Regions from separate parts of the Homo sapiens genome. Here all the other regions are linked to region 1. Evidence: promoter capture Hi-C in 16 types of primary human blood cells and fetal thymus (Javierre and others, 2016). All regions are on one chromosome and are shown on one strand. The core of a region is centred on a gene start or on the middle of the fragment in contact, and the rest is flanking DNA. Distances in the headings are between cores, read along the strand shown. Region 1 holds the start of TP53AIP1 (tumor protein p53 regulated apoptosis inducing protein 1). Region 2 has its middle 20 kb from the start of LINC02098. Region 3 overlaps LINC02725 (long intergenic non-protein coding RNA 2725).

Region 1 (4,031 bases), core at 1,498-3,997:
TGCCCTCCCTGGTCTATTATCACAAAGAACCTTGGAGCCCCTGCACAGGAACCCACTCCTTAGAGGGCACAAGGGGCCAAGTTTTGTTTGAGACAATGAGCTGGCATTGGAAGGGAGAGATGACAGCTATCCTCTGTCCTGCTTCCAGGGCAGGGCAGAGCAAGCTGCTTTTGGCCCCGTCTCTGAGGCAGACATGAGCACACTTGTCTCAGGCAGAAGCAGCCTTAGATGGTGTTATGGTTTGAACGTGTTTCCCCCGCAAAATCCAGGTGTTGCCAATGTGCTAGCATTAAGAGGTGGGGCCTTAAGAGGGGATTAGGCCATGAATGGAATCAGGTGTCCTGATGTAGGTGCTGTGTGGAGGGAGTACATTCACTCGTTGCCCTTCCACCTTCAGCCATGTGAGGACGGCAGCCTTTGTCCCTTCTGGAGGACGCAGCAGCAAGGCACCATCATGAAAGCAGAGACTGGAGCCATCACCAGGCACAGAACCTGCTGGCACCTGGCTCCAGAGCTGTGGGAAGATACATTTCTGTCCTTTGTGAATCGCCCACTCTCCGGGGTTGTGTGAGAGCAGCACAAAATGGACTGGGACAGCTGGAATGTCAGTTTGCAACAGTCCCCACCCACACACTCAAGGCATGCCACGGCGGCCACGCTGGGTGCCTTTCCGCAGGTGCCCAGGCATCAGGAGCACTGGCCCAGTCTCGAGGGGCGTTCATGTCAGGGAGGTGCCCCCGCTAGTGTCAGCTTCAGCGCCGCCAGCATCAGGAAGTTCATCTCGACAAGCCCGGGCAAGAGAGGAGGCGGTGAGATCACCTCCTACCCATCCAGAGATCCCCCGACTTTGGAGTAGTCTGAAGGACTTGAGACTCCTGAAGTGAGAGGGGACAGAGCTAGGAGAAGGGAGGGCAGCCAGAAGGGCAGGGGTGCAGGGGGCGGGATGAGGAGAGCCAGGCTGGCATTAGCAAGAGCTTCTTCATGTCCTTTTGGCCCAAGGGGGCCGTGTTCTCTGAGGAAATGGGACTTGCTCCAGGGAAGAGGAAGAGCTCAGCATCCACTTTCCCTCTGCCGAACAGCTCCTGGGGAAAGCCCACCACTGTCTTCTTGCCCCGCTCTGTGCCCTCACACAAGCGATTCTCTCCACCTGCGACGTGTTTCCTCTCCCTCCCCTGGCCAGTGTCCATGGGTTCTCTGAGACGGAACAGGAAGTATTTTAAGGAAGACCTCCCTAACCTCCTCCCAGCTGGGTGGATCCCTCCCTCTGGGCCCCCACACATCTCAGTTTCAAAAGACCATTCACATTGTAGTCTAAATTAGTGGATCCCTGGTGTGTGATGTGTGCAGTTATAATGGGTTGCCTCAGCCCCCAACGCACCTTTCATTGCCTTCTTCTGTGATAATGCCCCTGGGCCCTGTACCCATTTCTCCCTTGCCAGCTGGCATGATGTTTAGCCCTGTGCAGAGGCAGGGGCCTCTCCCCGGTTCCGACATTTCTTTCTCTGCTTGCCCCGGCTGCTGGGGGGACATGAGGGACACTTGGCCCTGTTCTCTCTTCAGCAATAATTAGTCCCAGCCCAGGTTCCTGGCCTGCTGCTCCCTGAGGAGGGTTTGCCAGTGCCAGCCCGTGCTTCCTTGTACCAGGACTTGGTCTGCTGGGACCCAGTGGAAAGCCCACGGCTGCCGCCCCCACCCACCTTCCCCTGCTTGCCAGCCACAGTCACCAGCTGTAGACTTGTGTGGCTGTGCTGCGGAAGCAGATCTGGGTGGAGGAGGGCCCCACGCACAGACGTGAATATGAAGGGACCCTCTAGAGGTTGTGGCAAACACAGGTGCCCCGCCCCATGCCCTGTCTGCAGTCACAGCCCTTCCTACATGGAGGGTGCTATCATCAATCTTCTGGGGGGCTGTGGACACTCTGCATCCCCATACCTGTGGCAGTCCTGGCACACGGTAAGCTCTCAGTAAGTGTGGTGAGTCACTGCTGAAGGAACTAACAAATAAACCTCCCACCACCAACCACAGGTAGCTGGGGCAGAACTAGGGAACTGCTGAAAGGAGGCTGGTGAACCCTGCCATGACATGCCCGCTGTGCCCAGGACCCAGGCTCCCACAGCTCGCGTCCTTCCTCTATCCCAGATCCATTCAAAGTGAAGTGGCCTCCATACAGGCTTCCCTAGGGGCCCTGCTCAGTGTCCATGAGGCCACCATGCCGCCGTTCACCAGGGGACGTGAGAAAGGGGCTGGCCTGTGGACCAGGACTGACCCAGGTCTGAGCCCCAGCTCAGCGGTCGGCTAGCTGTGCGAGCTTGCGCAGTAGCTCCCCAAGTGTGGCTCAGGACGCACAGCATCGGCGTCAGCATCGCCCAGGAACCTGTTAGAGATACACATTTTTGGCCCCAACCTGCATCGACCAAGTCAGAAATTCTGCAGTGTGTGTTTTCGTAAGTCCTCCAGGTGACTCTGATGTACTCTCAGGGTTCAGAACCATTGAGAGAGAGCAGTTTAGCTGACCTCCTCCAGGCCTCACCTGCGCATGGTCACGACTGTACTTTCCGCACACAGTCGCCGAGATGCGTGTGAAACCCCAAGCACAAAGCAGAGTGAATCGCAGTGGCCAGAGCATACCTGAAGCACCAGCGCTGGTCCCCTCCCTCCCCCTCTCCTCACCTGCCTCCTAGGAGTCGGAGGGTCCGTGGAAATGGTCTCCTCCTGCACATCTGTGCTGCTGTGACTGGGTGCAGGTCTGAGCAGAGGCTTTCGGAGTGAGCTGAGCAGGCGAGCCCGAGCACGGCCTCTCAGGGAGCGAGCCCATAGGCTGGGGAGCCGTCCCTGGAGATGCCCCTGGGCTCCTTGCGGGGCATGGCTGAGTTCCTGCCTGTCCTTGGCAGGCCCGCAGTGGTGGGGTGGCTCAGGCAGTTACCCTTTTCACAACCAGTGCTGCTGGGGGTGAAGGCAACGGGTGGGTGAGCACGGACAGTGTGAGCCACGTGGCCGGGAGCTGGGCCAGCTCGCTGTATGTGCACATCGTTTCCATGTGTGCAGCAGAAATTGGCGTCTCTGCACAAAGCTGATTTTAGTCTTTCTCACCTTTTCTTGCTCAGCTTAAAATAGGCCTCTCTTCAGGGACAAGGTGGCCTTATACCAAGCCAAAGTGCTGAGGGCGCAGGGAGACCCGCGAGACAGGGCCCCCTGAAGTCCTGGCGGTTTCTAGCCAGCCTCTTGAAATTGACTTGAAGGTGTTTACCTTGCAGATTATTTTTTCCAACTTCCCACACTCTGCTTCCCGCACTCTGTCCTTCCTCAAGGCTGGCACGCTCATCAGTTGACTTCATCTCTCCCTAATGGCAAGGCCTGACCCAGAAAGAAATGCAACTCAGATCCCGGCTCAAATGAGGCTGGGAAAGCTGATGCCTGTAAGACCGACAAAGACGGTGCAAGGTGAGGTGAACGCCGCTGTGTCTGGGTGCCGGGCTCCCTTGTCGAGTTGACCCTGAGTCTGCATCAGCTCAAACGCAGTTCCCGGTTCCCCACTGAGATTCCCACTCCCGCCTGGAGGGGAGACGTGCCTGCCTTTTGAATGAAGCGTTGCACACTAGACATAGTATCACAGGCAGAATTGTCATTTTTAGCCTTTTTACATGTTGCCAACTTTCAGACATACTATTCCGTTTTATCCCTCCAAATTCCTCAAAAGCTGCTTCTATTTTGGAGCTCTTTCTTGCCAGTGCTGGGTAATTTCTCCCTAGCCATGTTTTTATTGTAGAGAATGGAAACCTGATGTGATGAACACTCTGAGTAGAAATCCCTGGGGGCTCGCAGTTAACCGGATAAGACATCTCACCCTGAGAAACGGTCCCAATTTCCTTTTAAAAATTCATTGTCTCTCTGAGATACATACATATTTCCTTGTCTCATTCCAGAATCAAAAGTTCTAATGTTGCAAAGAATAATTTTTGTCCAAATATGTTTTCTTCCTGGTGTTCCAGAGAGTCTGGGATAGCAAGAGGTGTGGAGCTTTGGTCCTCGGG
Region 2 (4,002 bases), core at 1,307-3,806, 750 kb before region 1:
TGAACTTATTTGAAATAGGGCTTTTGCAGATGATTAAGTTGATATGGGGTCCCTTCAAGGGGAGCCAATAATATTGGATTACAGCTCACTATAATGACCCCATATCAACTGGGAGATACAGAGACAGGTATGTACAGAGCAAAAATTAAGTGAAGACACAGAGAGAAGATGTCTGTCTACAAGCCAAGGAACGCATGAAGCTAGGAGAGAAGTATGGAGCAGATTCTGCCTCGCAGCCCTCAGAAGGAACCGGCAACCAACCCTGCTGATAACCTTGATGTCAGACTTCCAGCCTCTAGAACAGGGAAGCCAAAATTCTGTTGTTTAAGCCACCTGGTATTTAAACCACAAGGTATTTATGGAACTTTGCTACAACAGTCCTAACAAACTAATACAATGTGAAATACACACACACACACACACAGCAGCAGCAGCAGCTCTGTGCCCAACATAGATATCTAGCTCTGTCACTTATGCTTATTTATCCATCTTTTCTCTCGTCTCTTTCCCTCCAGAAGCTGCAATGAGGAGAGGAACCTGGTTTATTTCAAGGGACACAGAGTTAGGGTTCTTCAGAAGATCACTTTCTTGTTCTACAGGCCAATAGGGGAGTAGCAGGGAACACAATTTTGTGAATGAGGAGAAAGCTAGCCATGGAGCCTTTGGAACATCTGTTGGAGTCCCCCACTTATTCAGGACCAGATGCTAATGGTGTACGCAATTGCACATGGAGGGAAGTTTCACTGACACTAATGAGCCATTCATTGTCCTGCACTCCAGGGCTCCTCCCACAAGGCCTGTTTTCAGATGTTCTACATTAAGTGAAATGCAGCACCCAGTTTCCATAGGAACTGAAGGCAAAGGCTCCCAGAAGGCCACATATGTTAGCATAGACTGATGCTCTGGGAGACTGCAGGCATTGATTCATCTGAGAGTGAATGAGCATTTTTTCACATCTGCTATTGCCAGGCACCATGTTAGGCACTAGAGACACAACCCAAAGAATAAATTCAGGGGCTGAGGCAGACAAGCAAAAATGATCATGTAAAAATGCTGTTACACAGTAAAGGGGCGGGTCACTGAGTTCACAGGATGGGCCTCTACCTAAGCTTTGAGCCAGGGAAAAACAAACAAACACGTATTCTAGAGAAGGAACCCTGTAACCTCTGAGGTGTCAAGGGCATGGAGACAAGTCAGGCAGGATGGCAGGAAGAGGACAAGGAGGCAGCTCTTCCCGACAGAGGGAGAATTGGCTGTGTCTCTAGGAATGTGGATGAAAGAAATCTAACTTGGAATGCCTGGCTTCAAAACTCAGCTGCCCTGTTGACTGTGCTCTGTGATGTGAGGCTTTCAGAAATACCTGAATTCCACCAGCCAGGATGTCCTGAAGTGTTCTAAAACCTCACCCTTCCCTCAGAAGTGTGGACTGCAGCTTCATTCAGCATTCATAAGGCTGGTTCAACGTCCAGCTCTGGAGAAAGCAAGTGCTTCTTATGTAACGTGAGGCACGTCTCCAGCAGCAGCCACCTCACATCCCAGCCCCGCACATCATGTCACACATTCCTGACTCCTCACACTACCCTAAAAAATGTGTGTTATCGAAGATTGATGTTCCCTGCCTTTGAACTCAGCCTAGGCTTTTATATGCTATTAAGGACAAGGGTAAAACCCGAGTCCCACTGTGAAAGTCATTCCAGTTGTCTCCATGGTCCATTTTCCCAGCAGGGTCACTTTGGCACACAGAGAAAGCGAAGGCCTGGGAACAGACTTGCAAGGAATTATGGAAAACATATTTGGCTGAGACACTTTGCTTGACTTCTACAATTTCCATTGTCCCTGCCCATGTTTCCAAATGACAAATGTATCTCCAATTGAGACACTGCAAAGTGCCTCGTATATAGTAGTTATTAATTATATGTGATATAAAATTATATATACATATACGCATGTAATTATGCATGTTTTTATATGTAATTATGTATACATATATAGTATGCATATGTGTATATATACACATATAGTATGCATATATGTACATATACATATATACATATATACATGTATGCATATGTGTATATATACATATAAATACATATATACAAATGTATATGTATATATACAATGTACACATGCATATGTATATATAAATATACATATACATGTATATGTATATTTGTGCATATACAAATATACATATACATGTATACGCATATAAAACATGCATATATATTAACATATTCATATGTTAATATAAAATATGGATATGTGTATATATACACATTATATAGATATATATAAAATAGAGGCAGAACTGACTTTTCTCTGCTTTAAACTTTACTGTAGCTACCAGAATGCTTTTGCATATAGTAGGATCTTATTAAGCATCTGTTGGTTGATTGACTAGCTAATTGTCTAGCTGGTGGGCAAGAAGAAGTAACTTGTCTTCGTATCACAAGGCCAAAAGTCTATAACAAAATGTTAAAGTAAATTCACCAAAACTTCTATTCCAAACAACAAGAAAAATATCTGGAACATATACAAAATTAAAGAGACAAGAAAGAAAGAAACCAGTAAGTACCTTTTTAGTCTAGAAATCTTTTTATTTAAAAAAAAGTTATTTTCTTATTTATTTATATGGCTCCAAACCTAGAGATCAGAAGGTGTTGTATGACTGGCTGGGGATATCAATGAAACAGATTATGATGTATGCATGAAGTGTGCATGCAGGCCAAAGTAGAACTTGATCCTGTGCCTCTCTGACAAAATAGGTGCTACTCACAGCTTTTACTTCCCTTTTGAAAAGGGCACTTCTCAATGAGGGGAGAAAGGGCACTTCTCAATGAGGGGAGTAGGCCAAGGGGGGTCAAGTTTCAGGACAATGTTTCAGCTCTACATGGGGCCTAGAGCAAAAGATCATAACGCACGTTTAGGTCTACACAAGATGTTTCTCAAGAAATGTTTTTGTTTAAAGTTTGTTTCCTACAATTCTCTCACGCACGTGCATGCACGTGCGTGTGCACGCGTGCACACACACACACACACACACACACACACACACAGCTTGTAGACTCTTCGTTATGGGGAATGTCAGGAAACCACACCCTGAAAGATTTTCTCTGTCTTACAATATTAAGGGATCATGACCATATTAAAGTCCCTTCCAGTACAGGGTTTGTCCATGTGAGCTTCTGAGAACAGGCGAGCTGTGGTTTTCTCACTAGCACAGAAGAGGTGAGAACACAGCCTTGGAACCCCTCCTTCTCACCACCGACCCTCATCAAAGGGCGTATGCAGTGCTCACAACCAGTCCTGGATGAGAGGGCTTCAGGCACTCAGGAGAACCAGTATCTAGACCACAGAGCAGCAGGGAGAGTGTGGCCACCTAAAGATGTGAAGGCACCGTAAAGACCCACTTGAATCTTTGCTCACCTCAACGCCATCCAACAATTGAAGCCTGGGCAAAGTGAAACACCCATCTCCTGATTCAGTCTCTTGGCTCTTGGTGAGCCAATGCTCACCTCTTGGCTTGAAGTCAGAGTGAGGGGTGTCAATAGGACTCCCTTATGTCCCACTTTCCCCACATTTCAGTTCCTGGCCCTGGACCCCACTCTCCACTTGACTCCATCCCAGATAGCTGATGCTGGTTCTCCCACATCTCCCCTATCAGGCAGCCAATGCTGTTGCCTAATTTAGCACAGAGTAAATTTATTTTGCCTTTATACTTTTACAATATGTTTAAAAAATGTGGACTCTGTTTCTCAGTTCAAATGTGATAATTGATTATGTCACGTTGAAAGATCAGTTATCTGTGATCTCCTGAAATAGACATATTAATGTTTGAAATTTCTGAAATGATAACACATTTCAAATAGCTTTTTAAAAAGATTACCATTCAGTTGCATGTCCCTGAACTCCTGTGGCAGACAATTCTACCATTTTTCATTTTCTTCCTTTTGCTATGAGGTGGCACTACGTGACCTAGATTTGACCAATGGAATAAGG
Region 3 (4,133 bases), core at 1,325-3,824, 770 kb before region 1:
TATTAGCAGGATCAGTAAATACTGACACTGATACTGATATTAATACTGGCTGCTACTGCTAGGTAATTACTAGGTCTGTCTATCAATCTATCCATCTATCTAGGATGTTCTCACTCTTGTAAATATCTCTATAAAGCCTTGTCAAACAGAAAAAGGAGACAATGTGAAAGGGTCTTGTGTACATTTAGTCTCTATTCATCTATTACAAGTTTCCTTTCTAAACCAAATAGTTCTATATTGTTTTGGAGACTATCTAACCCTCATTAATTAGCTGTTTTATTTCTATTTCTTTATTGCTCATATATAACAATAGGAAAACTTGGTTAGTCAGTTAATTAACAAATATTTAGTAATGTATATTATTATATGACTTGAGACATGATAAACATGTTCTAAAAGTGTGGAACACAACATTTGATAAGAAAGGCAGAATCTCCATCTTCAAAGAGATTGCATTATAGTGGAAAGAGCCAGACAATATATAAATATATAAACCAAGAAATAAGATCATTAAGGTACTGATAAGTGTTATGAAGAAGATGAAACGGGGTGATTTTGACAGACATTGACTGTAACAGGACCAGTTGTTTTAGAGAGCATCAGAGCAGCTCTTCATGAGGAGGAGCATCAGAGAAGCTCTTCATGAGGAGGAGCCTCATGAAGGTGAAACCTAAATGATGAGAAGCCAGCTATGTAAGAGGAGCATTTGACACAGAAGGAACCATAAGTACAAATGTAATGAGATGAGAAATTTCTTTGGTATGTTGAAGACATCAGGACAGGTGAGTAGCATGCACCTGTGTCCCAGCTACACCAGAGGCTGAGGCAGGAGGATTGTGTGAGCCCAGGAGCTTGAGGATGCAGTGAGTTATGACCATAGCACTGCACTCCATCCTTTTGTGATGTCTTTTTTTTTTTAAGAAACGTCACTGTGTTCCGGGTGACAGAGCAAGATGACATTTCTGAAAAAAAAATGGGGGGACATCACAAAAGACCATGGATAAAACTAAGTAAACCAGAGAAACAAGAAGGAAGAGAGAGAGATGAATTGGGTGCATTGGCAAAGCCAGATAATGTTAGAATGACCAGGCCATGGGAAGAGTCAGGTTCAAAACATACTTAGAAGCCACTGGAGACTTTTAAATGGGCATAGGAGGATCTGATTTGTAGTTTAGAATGATTTCTCTGGCTGCTGCGTGTAGAACAGATCCTATGTAAGGGAGCAAATGTGGAGGCAGAAAAGCTACTGCAGAGGTGATAACATTAGCTAAAAGATCACAGTATCTGGGGAAAGGGTGGTTGCGGTAGAGAGAGTAAAAAGTAGTTGGTTTCAGAATACATTTTAATGGAAATGGAATAGCAGACTGATGATTGGATAATGGGAATTGAGGGAAATCAAGGAATCCAGAATGACTTGTAAATTTTTGTTCTAAGAAATTGAGTGGATAATGATGGCATTTACTTAAATAGCAAATACTTGTGGAGGTAAATTCTGGATATGTGGGGCAACCAAGGGTTTTGTTGATGCCATGTAAACTTTGGCATGCCAATTAGATACGAAGAGATACTGAGTGGAAAGCTGGATACTCAGGGGACCACAGTCTTCTGTTTCCTGGATTTCAGGTCCCTTTTAAACTGAAGCATAGTGAGAACAAGTGTAAAGCACAACACAGACGGAAGATTGCACCTTAGCTCACTGCCCCGTGCACCCCGGTTACACCGTCTAAGAAAACACTCTGGATTCAATCCTTGGAAAAGTAGGTAGGAATTTGCTTTTCATGGAATTCAATCTGAATGGTTTATAAAAGAATCAAGTCAGTTATTCATGTGGCAGCATTATGTGCCCCTAAATTCTCTGATTTCCATTAACTAATCTCAAGTAAATAACAATAGGCAATGTGTCCAATATTTTGATCTCTCCAAACTAGTAAGAGGCTCAAGATCAGAATCAATTCTTTGCAGAAATTCCAATCTCTTCATCACTAACATGGTATTTACTCTCAGTATGTGCTGAGCTACCACTTCTGGAAGAGTCTTTCCTGGTTAATTACTTGAAACCTGTTGCATTGGGAATTTCTCAGAAAGTCTGCCTTGATGAGCTTTACTCAAGAGCCGCAACTTCACGGATCGGACAACAGAAAAGACTTCGGCAGTTACCAAATCTGAAGTACTCATTGTGCATGCTAGCAATCTGGGACTAATAAGGTTAAATTGTCTGAGACCTCAAGGTGGAAGTGACAGGTGGGTCTAGAACTCAAGTTTACCAATGACAGTCCAGTGTTATTGTCATTATCCTTTAGAATTGTTCATTTATTCATTCATCACACACTTATGAAAGTCCTATTATGTATTATATACTAAGCTTGAAGACCAAAACAAATCAGTAAGATCCCTATCTTAAAGACTCTTAGATCTAGTACATGACTTAGTATAGGTGAAGAATTTTAATATAAGACTCAGTAGATGCTATAATAAAATAATGAGCAAAACTATATAAAATCCCAGAGAAAGTTGAAACTTATTCTGTCTTGGATCTTTGGAAAATCCTAAAGAAATTTGCGAACTTTTATAGGGAGTCTTATATAATGAAGAAACGTTTACTAGGCAGAAAATGGAGGGAGAGGTAGTTCAGAAAGGGATAACAACAGAGAAATTCAAAGTAGACAGAAGTGTGAATCATGGGGGAATGGAGGAAAGTGAGATTACAGAGGGGGTTTGGGGACAGACAGTACAAGCCTGGTAGACCCATCTAGGGAATTCGGAGTCTAGGAGGCCAGAAAGAGTCATGAAGCTTTGAAAGCAGGAAAGTGACAAGTTCAAATTTGTTTTAAAGCTGCTTTGGCTACAGCATAGAAATTGAGGGCTGGGCATGGTGACTCACGCCTGTAATCCCAGCACTTTGGGAGGCCGAGGCGGGCGGATCACGAGGTCAGGAGATCGAGACCATCCTGGCTAACACGGTGAAACCCCGTCTTTACTAAAAATACAAATAATTAGTCGGACGTGGTGGCGGGCACCTGTAGTCCCAGCTACTTGGAAGACTGAGGCAGGAGAATGCCGTGAACCCAGGAGGCGGAGCTTGCAGTAAGCCAAGATCGGGCCACTGCACTCCAGCCTGGGCGACAGAGAGAGATTCCATCATCTCAAAAAAAAAAAAAAAAAAAAAAAAAGAAATTGAGCAAAAGAAAGAGAAGCTGTCGATGGGGTGGTAGCTGTATGTTCACAGACATGTGCACCATATTGCTATGCTGTTGCAGTTTTGGAAGAGCGCTTGTGCTTCTGCCACTAAGTACTCGCACAGTTTTACATTAAAAATCTCTTATTGAGAGCTTACTAGGAGCAAAACAGCAAGGAGAGTCCGGCATGGTGCGGAGATTTCCATCTTCTTGCCCAGGAAAATGTTTATAAGGAAAAAGAACTAAAGAGATTCAAAGTGAGGACAAGGCACTGTTGAAGAAATTAGAATGGCTTTTTGGAGTAAATAAAATTTGGCATGGAGGGGTGATGGATATACAGGACTTTTGTAAGTAGAAGAGATTGACTGCTCTGACCAAAATGTCTTCCCTAACGCGCCCACTAAAATGCAAGCTAAAAATTGAGATTAGGGCCAGGCGCGGTGGCTCACACCTATAATCCCAGCACTTTGGGAGGCCGAGGCTGGCGGATCACAAGGTCAGGAGATCAAGACGATCCTTGCTAACACGGTGAAACCCCGTCTCTACTAAAAATACAAAAAATTAGCCGGGCGTGGTGGCGGGTGCCTATAATCCCAGCTACTCAGGATGCTGAGGCAGGAGAATCACTTGAATCCAGGAGGCGGAGCTTGCAGTGAGGCAAGATCGCGCCACTGCACTCCAACCTGGTGCCCCAGCGAGACTCCGTCTCAAAAAAAAAAAAATATATATATATATATATGTAGAAATTAGAGTGTCTATTTCTAACTTCTCTTCACTATTTCCTTCTTAGAAGTCAGAATGAAAGAAGTGCTCTAACAGTGTCGTCAACCTCGATTAAGCCTCAATCAAGCCAAAATTTGTGCTTGAAAAACCTAAAGAGGAGAACTACCACTGTTTATTTTTGTTACATGATGGCAAACAGTATGAGTCATGTTTCCATGGAATTGACTAGCTGCA

What was found. The method cuts DNA at HindIII sites, captures the fragments that hold promoters and counts their contacts. A CHiCAGO score of 5 or more calls a contact.
Region 2: a fragment that was not itself captured here is called in contact with the fragment with the promoter of TP53AIP1 in region 1 in 3 of 17 cell types (total B cells, M2 macrophages and naive B cells); the score reaches 6.9 in total B cells.
Region 3: a contact is called between a fragment that was not itself captured here and the fragment with the promoter of TP53AIP1 in region 1, in 7 of 17 cell types (total B cells, naive B cells, naive CD8 T cells and 4 more). The highest score is 12.3, in total B cells.

Annotation. Positions count from the first base shown.
Region 1 is chr11:128,940,124-128,944,154 of GRCh38, forward strand. It overlaps TP53AIP1 (tumor protein p53 regulated apoptosis inducing protein 1), which reads right to left and starts at 2,748. Exons shown (of 4, transcript NM_022112.3): 1 at 2,671-2,748. RefSeq lists an enhancer at 591-1,091. The HindIII fragment of the contact is 8,104 bases long and covers 1-4,031 here.
Region 2 is chr11:128,187,224-128,191,225 of GRCh38, forward strand. No RefSeq gene overlaps it. Among named protein-coding and RNA genes, the nearest start is that of LINC02098, 20 kb to the right of the region's middle. The HindIII fragment of the contact is 2,899 bases long and covers 1,108-4,002 here.
Region 3 is chr11:128,167,590-128,171,722 of GRCh38, forward strand. It overlaps LINC02725 (long intergenic non-protein coding RNA 2725), which reads left to right. Exons shown (of 6, transcript NR_183639.1): 4 at 1,624-1,757. Among named protein-coding and RNA genes, the nearest start is that of LINC02098, 39 kb to the right of the region's middle. The HindIII fragment of the contact is 429 bases long and covers 2,361-2,789 here.